Linked DNA regions of Homo sapiens: regions 1, 2, 3 and 4 are each linked to region 5. Evidence: promoter capture Hi-C in 16 types of primary human blood cells and fetal thymus (Javierre and others, 2016). All regions are on one chromosome and are shown on one strand. The core of a region is centred on a gene start or on the middle of the fragment in contact, and the rest is flanking DNA. Distances in the headings are between cores, read along the strand shown.

Region 1 (2,700 bases), core at 104-2,603, 320 kb before region 5:
ATTCCCCCTCTCTCCTCAGGTGCTGTCTTCCTGACTGCTGCACTTCTTAGGTGGGGAATAAGCTGCTCATTAGTGCCCAGGTGCTTTTGTTACTCTGCCCCCATCTTGTGATTTTGATTGTCTGCCCAGCAGCCCAATTCTGGACCAACCAGTGTGCAGAAAGAGCCCAGCAACTGCTGCTCTGGGGGAAATGCCCAGGAAACAGTCCTCAGAAGGATTGTGATCCACTGAAGCAACAAGGCAGCCAGAGCAGCAGTAGGAAGTCAGAATTTCTGCTGGCTCTCTGTGTGGAGCATTGGTGTGGCAGGGGAGATGGGATTGTCCTCAGCATTCAGCTGAGGAAACCAGGCCCACAGATGTCATGTAGTTTGAAGGTGATGGAACCGGAGCCACTGTTAGCCCAGTGTGTACATTTTCCAGCACACCCCATTGCCTGCTGTTAATAAAAGAAATGGAAAAAATTCCACACAGATGCATGACTAGCTAGAGTCATTAAAGATACTGCAGAGTGTTTGCTGGGATGACTGTGGGCAGTAAAGCTATTGGGGAGTAGTCAGGATAATGTTCTTTTCTTGGAAGGAGAGTCCTGTCTTTATTTACCTGACACGTATCTTCTGTTGTTGCTGGCTGTTCTTTGTTGAATACTTCCCCTATGCAGAATACTTTAATTGTAGCAGCTAATTTTTATTGAGTATTTGCTGTATGTCAGGTAGTTAACTACATCCACTGATGTAAACCTCATGACCACCATTTAGGTAGGTACTGTTAAGCCTGCTGCTGCCACTTAACTGTGCAGTTTTGGGCAAGTTACTTTACTTCTCTGTTACTTAGGCATCTGCTGCCAGCATCACCTATAAATATATACCTTTTTCTGAACTGTAATATTTGTATTGTACTATTGCATGGGTCTGTTGTGAGGGTGAGGTGAACGAATGCATGTAAAGCATCACAGGCTCCTTAGGTCGTCTTATCCCCCAGTGCCCAAATATGTGATCTAGGGCAAGCCACTTCACCACTCTGAGCCTGTTCTTCCTCTGTAAAATGAGTGTAATATGTATTTCAACGATTGTTGTGAAGCAAAAATGAAGTAATGGATTAGGCATCTTACACTCCACATTGGTATGTAGTAAATGCACAATAGAAATAGTTGCTATAATTGCCATCCCCATGGGGAACTGGCTGTCACTATTTTATATGTAGGTTCGATTTTAGGATCAAGGGAGTTTGCTACCAAGTCTGGCCATTGCCTCTTCTCTGTTCTGACTTAAGAGAATGTTTTGGTGGATGGGTGAGATTTCAAGTTGAGAGGAGAGGAAAGTAAAAGACTTATAAAAATGGAAAGAAATGCATGAAAACAGATGTATTACAGAAGGTCTTTGAGAAGTTGTGGATGAGGTTTGGCTAGCCTTTAGTACTTCAATTTTCATGGGAAGGAGAGAAACCTCTTCCTTCACCCCCATCTATACATAACCAACTTTTATTTCCTGATAGGATTATGTAACAATTTTTTTCTGTTAATTATCATGGACATGTTAGGATTTGATTATTTGGAGAGGACTAGCATGCTTAATTAGCGTTCAGAATTTACAGTTTATAACAGGGCTCTCTTTGCAGTGTACTCATTTTTGTTACACTGGAGACTTCTAAAAAAGCAAAAAGTTGCCTTGATTATCAATGAGGAATCAAATGCAGGTGGTTGGTGGTACAGGAAATCAACCCAATTACTGATTAATATGAGTGATAGAGTGATTTTCCTATGATCTTATTTGAAGCATGCACCACTCAATTGGAGTTAAGATGATAGTTACAAGTAAGCAGATCCTAAATCAAACTTAAATGTAATTTAACATGGAAAACATGAACATCTTTTAAAATATTTTTGAATTAATCTCACCCTTTTACCAACCTGTGGCATTATTTTCTTGCTGTTGATGCCCAAGCCTTTCCTTATTTCCTCATACAAACTCTGATGTGAGTCCTGACTGGGTTAGCTATTTGTGATTGTCCCTATTGTAAAGATATGTAAAGTATGGTCTGGGGTTCCCTGTGGGAAGTCCCAGGATCCTTCCAGGGGTTCTGAGAGATCAAAACTATTTTTATACTAAGGTCAAGACATTTTTTGCCCTTTTCTCTCTTATTCTTTCATAAATTTATAGTTTATGAGACTGGAGCTGTTTGGGAGAAGTAGTTTCTTGAAATGTTCTCTGGTGGTTTCATTGGGAGTTTAGTATCTTTTTAGCTTTTCTGCTAGGTCTGACATCTATCTGGCTTACCGTCTTTTAGAGACAATGCAAATAGGTACTTTTTTGTCACTGTTCGGTGACTTATGTCAAAATGAAGACTGTCAAAAAGTATTTTTCCCCCTGGTTGGCTTTACCATGCTCCTCTCAGATTGTAAGAGTATGGCATCTTTTCTGAATCTCTTTGATGCATCACATGATAGATGCCGACACCATTCATCCTGCCTTAGTCTTTATTTCTTTTACCCATGTAAAGTGCCTAATACCAAAACTGGTACATAGTAGACATTCATCACATATTAGTTCCTTTGGTTTATTGCCTTGTCTTTATCCAGCTTGCTTTGAATGTGTTTCTCAAACTTCAATGTGCATACAAATCACCTGGAGAGCTTATTATGTGCTGATTCTAATTTGGTAGGTTTGGGGTAGGACCCAATAATCTGCATTTCTTTTCAATTCT
Region 2 (2,700 bases), core at 91-2,590, 300 kb before region 5:
AGCCCTTCCTCAGCTCTCCTCTCCACTCCCTCCTCCTCAGGATTATAGGGTCCTTCTTGCTGCTGTATCAGGTCTCAGCTCATTAGTTGTTTGAGGAAAGGGCCTGCCATGCCATGTTCATCACTTCAGCCACAAAGGATGGCTTTTACTCAGCAATCATGTGCTGAACATCTGCTACATTCCACTCTTAGCACTAGTGAAACAAACGCGTAGCAACAGAGCCCCAGGCCTCAAAGCTCACAATGGAGGTAACTGGTTTCCAGGTTAAGTGCACTAAACTGTGTGGAAGGTGTTATGATAGTACCTCTACAGGTTCTGATGGAAGCATCAGTGATGGATTTGGCTTTTCCATTTGGGAGAGGAGGCTATAAAAAACCTTCCTGGAGGACGTGGGCTCATTCTGATTCACAGACAGGTCCAGCCCCTTCACTTCTTACTTTGAACTACTCCATCTGGAATCATAGAAACTCATTAGCAGCTAAGTGAGTCGTAGACCCTGTTCCTACAGTTTCAACAAACCCTGATGGTGGCATTTCAGTTTATCGTAGAGGTTTCTTTTCCCCTACAAGGGTCATTCTCTCTTGCCCAATTTTGGCTGAGAAGGGAGGAATATCATGGCCGTTTTGGCTGTATGGTGTTACTGTATAATGATATGGGGATTGGTGAGTGAAAAATAAAATGAACCCTCACTTGCTTAGGTACCAGTTTTATGTAAGAAGAAACTCACAGCTTTTGCACATTATTTGAGATTTGCTTCTTCTGTTTAACATATTTGTGGTACTTTCCTAAAAAGTTTTGTTATAGACAGCTGTAGAGATTAAAAAAAAAAAAAAAGCATGATGTGAAACTAAAAGCAAAATAGGAATGAGTCTCAAGGTGTATAATGTACCAAATGATAGTAGGGCCTGGAACATTCAACAGCATAGCCTGTACTGACATAAGGTTAAGAAACATTGGCCTTCAAGTCACTTTAGACTCTTCTTAATGAGTTGTCGTGTTGGAGAGCCTGCACCGCATTTTGTTATTTGCCATTAGTTGATCTTTGGCCAGTATTAATTATTTACATTGAGCTGCATATTACAGGGGGAAAATCCCAAATAAACAGAAGCTTAAATGCGATAGTTTATTTCTCTCTCCTCTAAAAGGAACTTAGACATAGGCCTGGAATGCCAGGTTTGTGGCGTCCTTTGGGATTCAGGCCTCCTTCCTTTTGATCTCACCTTCCTCAGCACATGACTTCCATCCTCAAGGTCACCTCTCAGCTTAAGATTGCTGCCAGAGCTCCAGCTGTCATTTCTGAGATGGAGAATCTAAAATGGAAGGGCAAAATTGGGCTTTCCCAGCTGAGCCACTTCTTTTCCAGAACCCATATAAATAACACTAGTATTTATTGACCACATTTGACTGTAAGAGAGGCTAGGAAATGGAAACTTGTATTTTCAAAATATTCTGGTAAAAACCAGGATTCTAGTACTAAGGAGATGGGGAGAATGGATGTTGGGGCAGCACATCAGCAGTGTCTGTCACAAGGCCACATCAGGAATACTTGGAGTAGAAAAGAGATAAAGCTTAGTGAAGTGAGGAGGTGGAGAAGTTGATGTTTACCAATATGGATACCAAAACTGCTGAGAGTGATGTTGCAGTAGAAAGAATTGTGATTAGATGGAAAAGTTATTGAAGTATTAGTGTCCTGGAGCTCAGTAGAGAAAGATGGTTGGCATAGCCCTCAGAAGAGGAGACTGGTATGAAGATGGCATAATAGTGGTCACAGGTGAACTTGTGGATGGGAACAGACAGTAGAAAAGGGACAGCATTCTTTGAGAATAGGTCTTGAGGAAAGGGAATACCTTTTAAGCTGAAAAGACGGAAGTGCTTTTCTCTCCTAGCCATGGAATAGATGATGAGTTGGTCCTCTGCAGAGAAGGGACCCGAAGGGCACAGGCGAAGGGAGTGGCCAATGCCAGTGGGAAGATGAGCCATGAAACCAGGTAGAGGGAGTAGATAAGTGGGATTTATATCTAGGCCTAGGCTAGTAGCTGTATTACCAAGAAAAAAGGAAGCTAGCACTTGGAAGTTAGGGAGAATGGGAATGATGGATGGGCAGAAGTGTTGTGAATTGGTTTGGGTGCTCAGTGTTGCTTTTTTTCTTTTGCATTTTCCAATTTCCTCTGTACGCCATACACTGTAATAGTCATTCCATTTAAAATTGCAGCTGGGTAGACCAGATATTGCTAGGGGGCATATCTGTCATTGAACTTGGGAAGCAGGGGACCCTGCTAATGGAGGCACTCCAGACACCTCATGGGAGCACAGCTGGGAAGCAACAAGTGGTCTATTTCTTGGCTCAGCCTAATTCAGACTCGCCTCTTCTCCTTAGAGAAAGGAAGAGGAGCCTCTTCCTTATGCTCTGCTCAATGTGTAGGGTTTTTCTTCCTATTTGTTGCAATTCTGAACATTATTAGTGGATAGTCCTGGTTTTGAGACTTACCCCTGCCTTAGACCCCCTGTTCCTAGCTCTTATTTCCTGGGACCCAGTTTCATTTTTCTCTTTCTGGATCTCAACTCTCATCCCTGACAGGGCATGATCATTATGTTATATGATCTCTCTTGGTTATATACAAAGAATGTACCAGTTTGTGGAGTATTCATAGACTTTTTTTGGTTTTGTTTCTTCTTCTTTTTGTAAATCCTAGAATGATC
Region 3 (2,700 bases), core at 174-2,673, 350 kb before region 5:
TTAGATTTCAACTCTGTACAAACAAAAACCCAAATAACATTAGCAATTATGTTTGTTTGTTTGTTTTCCCTCTCTGACCAGAGAAGTCTGGAGGTAGTTCAAAGCTAGTCAGTGCCTCCATGGTTATCAGGAGCCCAAGCCTTTTCTGTTTCCCTGGTTCTACTCTCTTTATCATATTGCTTTAGGATCCCAAATGGTTGCTGGAGTGTCAGCCGTCACAACCACATTACAGTAGGCAGCAAGATGCAATAAGAAGGGAAGGATAACAGGAGTCCTCTTCCAGCTGTGTTAGCCCTTTTTAAGGCACTTTACCAAAACTCCTACATAGCATTTCTGCTTACATCTCACTGGCTAGATTTAGCCATATAGCCACCTTAGCTGTAAGGGAGGCTGGAAGATGAGTCTTTTAGCTAAACACATTGCTGCCCCGAATCAAACTGGGGCTCTGTTAGTGAAGAAACGGGGACTACATAGCAGGTACATAACTGGTAGTCCTGCCACATCAGCAGAGTACCATTTGTACAGAGAGTGCGGTTTAGTGCAAAGGGCTTGAACTTTGAAATTAGATAGACTTCTGTTTGAATCTTAACTCTACCACTTACTCATTTCAGCACCCTAGGTCTAGCACTTAACCTCTCTGAGTCTCAATTTCCTATCTATTAAACATGAGGAGAATAATAGCTACTTTGTAGGGTTGCAGTGAGGGTTAAAGAAAATCATAAATAAATTGCCTTGTATATAGTAGATACTAAATCATCGTCATTCTAGTTGTTATTAACAGGTAAGGTATGCCTTCCATCTTCACCACCATAGTGGTTATTTTAAAATTGAGATAATTCATATAAAATTTGCACTTTTAAGATATACAATTCAGTGGTTTTTAGTGTATTCACAAAATGATAGAACTATCACCATTGTCTATTTCCAGAACATTTTTGTCACTCCTCACAAGAAACCCTGTACCCACTGGTAGTCATTGCACATTACCACTTCCCCCACAGCCCCTGATAACCACTAATCTGCTTTCTGTCTCTATAGATTTGCCTAGTCTGGACCTTTAAGGTATCATACAGTATGTGGTCTTTTGTATCTGACTTTTGACTTAGCATAATGTTTCCAAGTTTCATCCATGTTGTAGCATGTGCCAGTACTTTATTACTCTTTATGGCTGAATAATATTCCATTGTATGGATATACCACATTTTGTTTATCCATTTGTTTGTTCATGAACGTTTGAGCTGTTTCCATTTTTTTGAATGTTAAGAATGATGCTGCTGTGAACATTGGTGTACAAGGTTTTATGTGCACATATGTTTTCATTTCTCTTGTGTATATACCTAGGAGTGTCTTAGTCAGTTTGGGCTGCTATAACAAATTACCCTAGACTGGATGGCTTACAAACAACAAATGTATTTCTCTCAGTTCTGAAAGCTGGAAGTCTGAGATCAGGGTACCAGCATGGTTGGATTCTGGTGAGGCCCTCTTCCCTTGCAGGCTGCTGACCTCTCATTGTGTCCTTATATGGCTGAAAAATAGCTAGAGAGCTGCTCTCTGTTTTTTTTGTTTGTTTGTTTGTTTTTGAGATGGGGTCTTGCTCTGTCACCCCCCAGGCTGGAATGCAACGGTGTGATCTCAGCTGACTGCAACCTCCGCCTCCTGGGTTCAAGCTATTCTCCTGCCTCAGCCTCCTGAGTAGCTAGGATTATATGTGTGCGCCACCATGCTTGGGTAATTTTTTGTATTTTTGGTAGAGACGGGGTTTTGCCATGATGGCCAGGCTGGTCTTGAACTCCTGATCTCAGGTGATCTCCCCACCTCAGCCTCCCAAAGTGCTGGGATTACAGGCGTGAGCCACTGTGCCCGGCCTGGGGTCTCTTTTATAAGGCACTGTTCCCATTCATGAGGGCTCCACCCTCATGACTTAATTACCTCTCAAAAGTGTCACGTTGTAATACCATCACATTGGGTTAGGATTTCAACATGTGAATTTGGGTGGGACACATGCATTCAGTCCACAATAGTAAGCAGTTGCTGGGTCAGATGATAACACTTGGTTTAACCTTTTGAGGAGTTGCCAAATTGTCTTTCAAAGCTACTCCACCATTTTACATTCCTACCAGCAATGTGGTGGGTTCCAGTTTCTTCACATCCTTGACAATACTTGTCAATTTCCATCTTTTTTATTACAGCCATCCTAGTGGGTGCAAAGTGGCATTTCATTGTGTTTTTGATTTGCATTTTCCTAATGTTTAGTGATGTTCAGCATCTTTTCATGTGCTTATTATCCACTTGTATATCTTTGGAGAAATGTCTATTTAACCCCTTTGTCCACTTTTAAATTAGTTATTTATCTCTTTATTGTTGGGTTGCAAAAGTTTATATATTTTGAATACTAGGCCTTTATCAAATACAAGTTGAGCATTCCCAATCTGAAAATCCCAAATGTGAAATTCTCCCAAATCCAAAACTTTTTGAATGCCAACATGAGATGCTGACACTTTTGCTTTCTGATATTTCATTGTATACAAACTTTGTTTCCTGCTCAAAATCATTAAAAATATAGTATAAGATTACCTTCAGGCTATGTGTATAAGGTTTATATGTAACATAAGTGAATTCTGTGTTTAGTCTTGGGCTCCATCCCCAAGGTGTCTCATTATGTATATGTAAACATTCCAGAAATAAAAAAAAATATCTGAA
Region 4 (2,700 bases), core at 37-2,536, 340 kb before region 5:
CCTGTTGATGACCTTTTTTTGCTCTTTAGATCACTAATGCACATACATAGAGCGCAACTGAAAAACTGTTAGATCTCCAAGATTGGAGCCCCAAATTAATCCATACTCTTTCTTTTACTATGTCTCCTTGGTAGAGATTGTGGTGTGTTGTGCAGATGTTGATGCTTTTAGTTAAATCTCTGTGATGAGCACTCTTGGAAGTAGATGAGAAATATATGGTAAGAAGGCTGGGCGTGGTGGGTCATACCTGTAATCCCAGCACTTTGGGAGGCTGAGGCAGGTGGATCACTTGAGGTCAGGAGTTCGAGACCAGCCTGGCCAAGATAGGGAAACCCCATCTCTACTAAAAAATTAGCCAGGCATGATGGCGCATGCCTGTAGTCGCAGCTTCTTGGGAGGCTGAGGCAGGAGAATCATATGAACCCGGGAGGCCGAGGTTACAATGAGCCAAGATCGCACCACTGCACACCAGGTTAGGCGACAGAGTGAGGCTACGTCTCAAAAATGGTAAGAAGAGGCAAAGAGGAGTTTACTTCTGGTTTACTTCTGGGCTTTACCTTTTGGGGCGAAGGGTCACACATGGCTCAGGGGTTCACGGTTTGGCTGGCACACAATGAGTGGCTACCTTGGGGAGGCAGGAATGGATGAGCTGGTGTTCTGCCAAGGTTTCATCCTGGCGTGTGAGTGTTTTCCAAGCAAAAAGCCAGTGTTTTACTTATTCAGCAGTGAAAGCACACTGATGTGTGCCATTTTACTCTTGACAATTTTTAAGTTATGAGTAAGTGACTAGGAGAGCATAAGCGTTTTCCCTAAACGGGAGCAGGCAGGCATTTTAGGACTGCTGTGACCCAGACAGTAGAAGGGACCCTCTATTTAAAGACTTAGAGTGGCTAATACTTAGTACCTTTGTCAGAGAGAGAGTCCAACATGATAAATGGAAGTCTACTTGGTTATTTTATATTGGGCCACATTTTAATTTGGTGACAATGAAGGAGGCAAGTTCTGCTCATTTATTGAGCAGCTGCTCCATACCAGGCCTGCTGTCGACACATGGCATGAATGCTTACATTTACCTCTCATATGAGCTCTCTGAAAGAGGAACATTTATCGTTTCCATTTTATAGAGAAGGAAATTGAGGCCCAGAGAGATGAAATGATTTCTCTCTAAGGTCAAGTGGCTAGTAAATAAAATGGAATTTAAAAATCTCCCTCCCGGCTGGGCGCGGTGGCTCAGGCCTGTAATCCCAGCACTTTGGGAGGCCGAGGTGGGCAGAACACGAGGCCAGGAGATCGAGACCATCCTGGCTAACACAGTGAAACCCCATCTCTACTAAAAATACAAAAAAAAATTAGCTGGGCGTGTTGTCAGGCGCCTTGTAGTCCCAGCTACTTAGGAGGCTGAGGCAGGAGAATGGCATGAACCCGGGAGACGGAGCTTGCAGTGAGCCAGGATCACGCCACTGCACTCCAGCCTGGGCGACAGAGCAAGACTCCGTCTCAAAAAAAAAAAATCTCACTCCCTTCTCTCCGTGAAACAGGCTCTCTCACTCTGTCGCCGAGGCTGCAGTGCAGTGGTGCGATCTCAGCTCACTGCAACCTCTGCCTCCCAGGTTCAAGCAATTCTCTCACCTCTGCCTCCTGGGGCAGCTGGGACTACAGGTGCACACCGCCATGCCTGGCTAATTTTTGTATTTCTAATAGAGACGCAGTTTCATCATGTTGGCCAGGCTGGTCTCAAACTCCCGACCTCAAGTGATCTGCCTGCCTTAGCCTTCCAAAGTGCTGGGATTACAGGCATGAGCCACCACGCCTGGCCCAGAGTTTAGAAATCTTAAAACAGTTGAGACATAAAATAGGTATTCTAAATGTCTACAAAAACATATTTCAGTGGCTTTATAGGGAACATAGGAGACTTTGCTGTCATTGCACCTTCAAGTTTTGGTCTGATTAAAAAAGGTGCCTAAGTTCCTTGGAGGCTTAGTGTTTCTTCATGTTTATATTTCAGAGTTCTTAATAGTGATACTTAAATATACTATTTTTTCCCTGTACTTTCGAAGATTTGGATATGAGTTTTCAGATTTAAATGTGGGAACTCATTTGAGTATAATCCGTGAACAGCATTTGTTCAACACATTTTTGGGGAGGCCCTGCTATATACAAGTCATTTTCCAAGTCCTACTGAGGTATTGGGGTTATCCAGATTGTATTATGGAGAAGCTAGTGGTCTTTAAGAAATAAAGAAATAAGGCTAAAACTCTTTAACAGGGTAGAAAGGGGCAGTTCATAGGGGAGGGAAATAGTATAGAACATTCATCCTAGGAATACAAGTGAAATCACTCAAATTACCATGTAGTCAATATACAGATTGTTCAGTGCCTCCTATGTGCCCAGCAGTGTGCTAGGCCCAGGGATACAATGAAGAAGAACCCTGCCCTCAAAAAATGCAGCCTAAAAGTTTTCTTATGGAAACTGGAAATCAAGTTTGGGTCTGGCATTAGAGGCTTTTCTTAATGTATTCACCTGGTGTGTTCAGTTATTTCTGAAGATATAGAAATGTTTGATGAAATGAATGAAGATACAGAATGTAGATTCAGTATCAAGCTCTATCTCATAACAGTAACATTCCTACTACATGCAAACCCTATACATACTATTATTTAATACCTTTTTTCACCCTACTATCATCAATGGCTCCATTTT
Region 5 (2,700 bases), core at 14-2,513:
GCTATCGCATCACTGCGCTACCTAGCCTGGGAAACAGAGCAAAATCCTGTCTTAGACAAAAAAAAAAAAAAGAAAGAAAAAAGAAAAGAAATGGAACAACTGGCTCCTAATCAGGTAACTCAGCACTGAGTATGATGTGAGCACACTCCAACCCCCCTATAGCTGGAGGTGGAGGTGGAAAGACAATGGAAGCCTTTGATGTAACCCTTTTGATACCCTGCTAGAGGACAGCAGAAAGATACTTGAGAGAATGTTGTCTATCTTCCCGAGAAATTTCTGGTTGAATGTCAAGATAATGATAGGATGGGCTTCTGGGCCAGGGGAGCAAGGCAGAGGGAAGGAGAGTATCAGTTTCCTAGGCATGTCCTGTTACAGGGAGAAAAACACAGTATTTTCCATTCTAGATCAGGGGAAAGATGAGGTCTCCCATAATACCTGAAACTGGAATTATGGCGAGGAGCTTTTTATGTGGGAATTTCTGTACTAAATTTAAAGTCCTTGGAGAACCGCTTAGGGTAGCACCGACAGCCCGCACCGTCCCCTCACCCCGCTTTATTTTTCCTCTGGCACAGCACTTAGCACCATAGGACCCATCAGATATTTACGGCCTGTCCCCGCTGCCCCTCCCGGGCAGGGATTTTGTTTTGGTTCGCAGCTGCAGCTCCAGGGCCTAGAACAGCCCGGGCACTTAGTAGGCCCAGTAAGTATCTGCGGGAGGGCTGAATGGGTGCGTGGACAGCATTCCTCTCACTGACCCCGCTGCGAGGTGAGCCAGGCAGGGGCTGTCACCATTCCTGAAGTCCAGGTGAGGGGGAAGCGACCCAGGGATGGGAACCTGGCCGGCCTGAAGGTCTGGAGACCGGGGTTCGAGCCCAAGCCCTGCCTGACAGGCAGTGACCTTGGGGGTCACTCTTGCGCCTCTCGGAGCCGGGTTTCCTCCTCGCACAATGAGGGCGATGACCCCCAATCGCAGCGCGCCCCGCGGTGACTTGCCCAAGGTCACCACCGTCCCGGGCCCGTGGCGCCCCGGCTCGGGAGGACACGGGCCAGGCGGGCGCGGGGTTCTGGGGTGGGGGCCGGCGCGGGGCGGTCCCGGGGCGCGGCGCGCGCTGACGCCGGGGCCCCGCGATGCGGCGGGGACTGGGCGCGGGGGGAGGCGCGTCGCGAGGCGAGCGTCCTCCTTTTGTGCGAGCGCCGGCGGCTCGGCTTCTCGAAGGTAAACAGCGCTTCCTCTTCCTCCTCGCCGCGCCTCTTCCTTTTATAGTTATTTCTCGCCTGGCACTCGCCCGGGCTGCTGCTGCTGCTGCTGCTGCCGCCGCGGCGGGGGCAGCTCGCAAACCTGTGGCGGTGACGTGAGCCCCGCCAACCCGGAAACGGCGGCGGCGGCGGCACCGGAGGCTCCGAGGCTCCTGCGCTCCCGCGCCGCGCTCCCCTCGCCCGCCCGGGCCGCCAGGTACGTGCCGGGGCTCTGAAGGCGCCGCCGCCCGGCCGGCCCGCGCGCGCGCCCCTGGATCCGATTTGCCCCCGGAGAGGGCGCGGGGTGCGGGGCGCGCGCGTGATGGGTGCGGGGAGAGGCGGAGGTACCATCCGGGCCGCCGGGCCGGGCGCTGCGGCGGGTGGACAGGGGGCGCCGCCGTGGTGGGGGCGTCCGGGCCGGCGGGCGCGGGGGTCCCGGGGGAGGCGCCTCGAGTGCGCGGGGGGCGGCGGGCGGACGCGAGGGGAGCGCGCAGCGGGGCCGCCGCCCGGGTCCACCCAGCTGCGGAGCCGGCGCCTTGTGCGCCTCGAGGCAGGGGGCGCTCGGGTCGGGGTGGCTGGTCCCTGGCAGACCCTTCCTGCGAGCCGGGTGTCGGTGCGGGGACTGACCCCGGGAGCAGCGCTGGCCCCCGGCCACCTCCCATCAGGGGCTTGGAAGACCAGTCGCATTGGATTTGAGGAACTAGAGGGGGTGAACAAAATCTCCACTGGCCTCAAGACTTCCTCCTGGGGTAGCCACCCGCCTGTGTTTAAAGAGCACTTCCTCTTCGCCTTTTATCTTTTCATTATCTTTCTTTTTAAATGGAAGTTCAGTGTTAGCGGGTGGGTGCCCTTGCAGCCTGCAGGGCTTTCCTGGGGCTGTGTACACACACACTGGGGTTGGGAAAAACCTGTGTGTCCTTTGAAACGTGTGTCCTGTGTCAGGAGTGGAACGAAGGAGGAATCGAGGTCTTACCATGCTGGAGCTACTTGGAGTGTGCCTTTGCTACCCACCCTGCTGCAAGAGGTGGAGGGGTGCGGAGGGATAGAGCTGGGGCTGCGGGGGAGTGTCACATGCACTTTGCAGCTATGTTTAATTCCTGGCCCTGCCGCTTACTAGCTGTGTGACCTTGGGCAAGTCGCTTACCCTCTCTGAGTCTTAGGGTCCCGTCTGTGAAATGGGCTGCTGCGAGTGGGGCCTTGAGAAAACGAGCGTAGATTTCCTGGCCTGCAGGGGGCGCAGTGATAGAAAGTGTCATTGCCAGTCACCTTGAATTTCTGCATCCCCAGCACCTAGAAAGGGTGCGTTGAAGCACGTGGGAAGCACCCCATAGATAATTGTGAGATGAACGAGTGGGTGGTGAATTTTGAGAGGTGAGTCGGTGTGCTTCCACATTTTGGCTTCCTTGCCCTGTAACATCCATCCAGGATCTCCAGGGAGCAATTTTGCTATCTGGGTTGGATGGA

Evidence for each region. Contacts are between HindIII fragments. The CHiCAGO score rates a contact against its expected background, and 5 or more counts as called.
Region 1: a contact is called between a fragment that was not itself captured here and the fragment with the promoter of CYRIB in region 5, in 1 of 17 cell types (monocytes). The highest score is 6.7, in monocytes.
Region 2: a contact is called between a fragment that was not itself captured here and the fragment with the promoter of CYRIB in region 5, in 1 of 17 cell types (total CD8 T cells). The highest score is 5.0, in total CD8 T cells.
Region 3: a contact is called between a fragment that was not itself captured here and the fragment with the promoter of CYRIB in region 5, in 1 of 17 cell types (neutrophils). The highest score is 5.9, in neutrophils.
Region 4: a contact is called between a fragment that was not itself captured here and the fragment with the promoter of CYRIB in region 5, in 3 of 17 cell types (naive CD8 T cells, fetal thymus and neutrophils). The highest score is 7.1, in naive CD8 T cells.

The regions. Positions count from the first base shown.
Region 1 is chr8:130,336,359-130,339,058 of GRCh38, reverse strand. All of the region lies in intron 3 of ASAP1 (ArfGAP with SH3 domain, ankyrin repeat and PH domain 1), which reads left to right. Among named protein-coding and RNA genes, the nearest start is that of ASAP1-IT1, 41 kb to the right of the region's middle. The HindIII fragment of the contact is 6,252 bases long and covers 1-2,700 here.
Region 2 is chr8:130,315,222-130,317,921 of GRCh38, reverse strand. The region is part of intron 3 of ASAP1 (ArfGAP with SH3 domain, ankyrin repeat and PH domain 1); the gene reads left to right. Among named protein-coding and RNA genes, the nearest start is that of ASAP1-IT1, 20 kb to the right of the region's middle. RefSeq lists an enhancer at 441-500. The HindIII fragment of the contact is 460 bases long and covers 1,111-1,570 here.
Region 3 is chr8:130,369,185-130,371,884 of GRCh38, reverse strand. All of the region lies in intron 2 of ASAP1 (ArfGAP with SH3 domain, ankyrin repeat and PH domain 1), which reads left to right. Among named protein-coding and RNA genes, the nearest start is that of ASAP1, 73 kb to the left of the region's middle. The HindIII fragment of the contact is 8,161 bases long and covers 1-2,700 here.
Region 4 is chr8:130,352,704-130,355,403 of GRCh38, reverse strand. All of the region lies in intron 3 of ASAP1 (ArfGAP with SH3 domain, ankyrin repeat and PH domain 1), which reads left to right. Among named protein-coding and RNA genes, the nearest start is that of ASAP1-IT1, 58 kb to the right of the region's middle. The HindIII fragment of the contact is 5,460 bases long and covers 1-2,700 here.
Region 5 is chr8:130,015,123-130,017,822 of GRCh38, reverse strand. It overlaps CYRIB (CYFIP related Rac1 interactor B), which reads left to right and starts at 1,263. Exons shown (of 14, transcript NM_001353258.2): 1 at 1,263-1,453. RefSeq lists silencers at 1,051-1,110, 1,161-1,230, 1,321-1,510, 1,701-1,970. The HindIII fragment of the contact is 5,812 bases long and covers 1-2,700 here.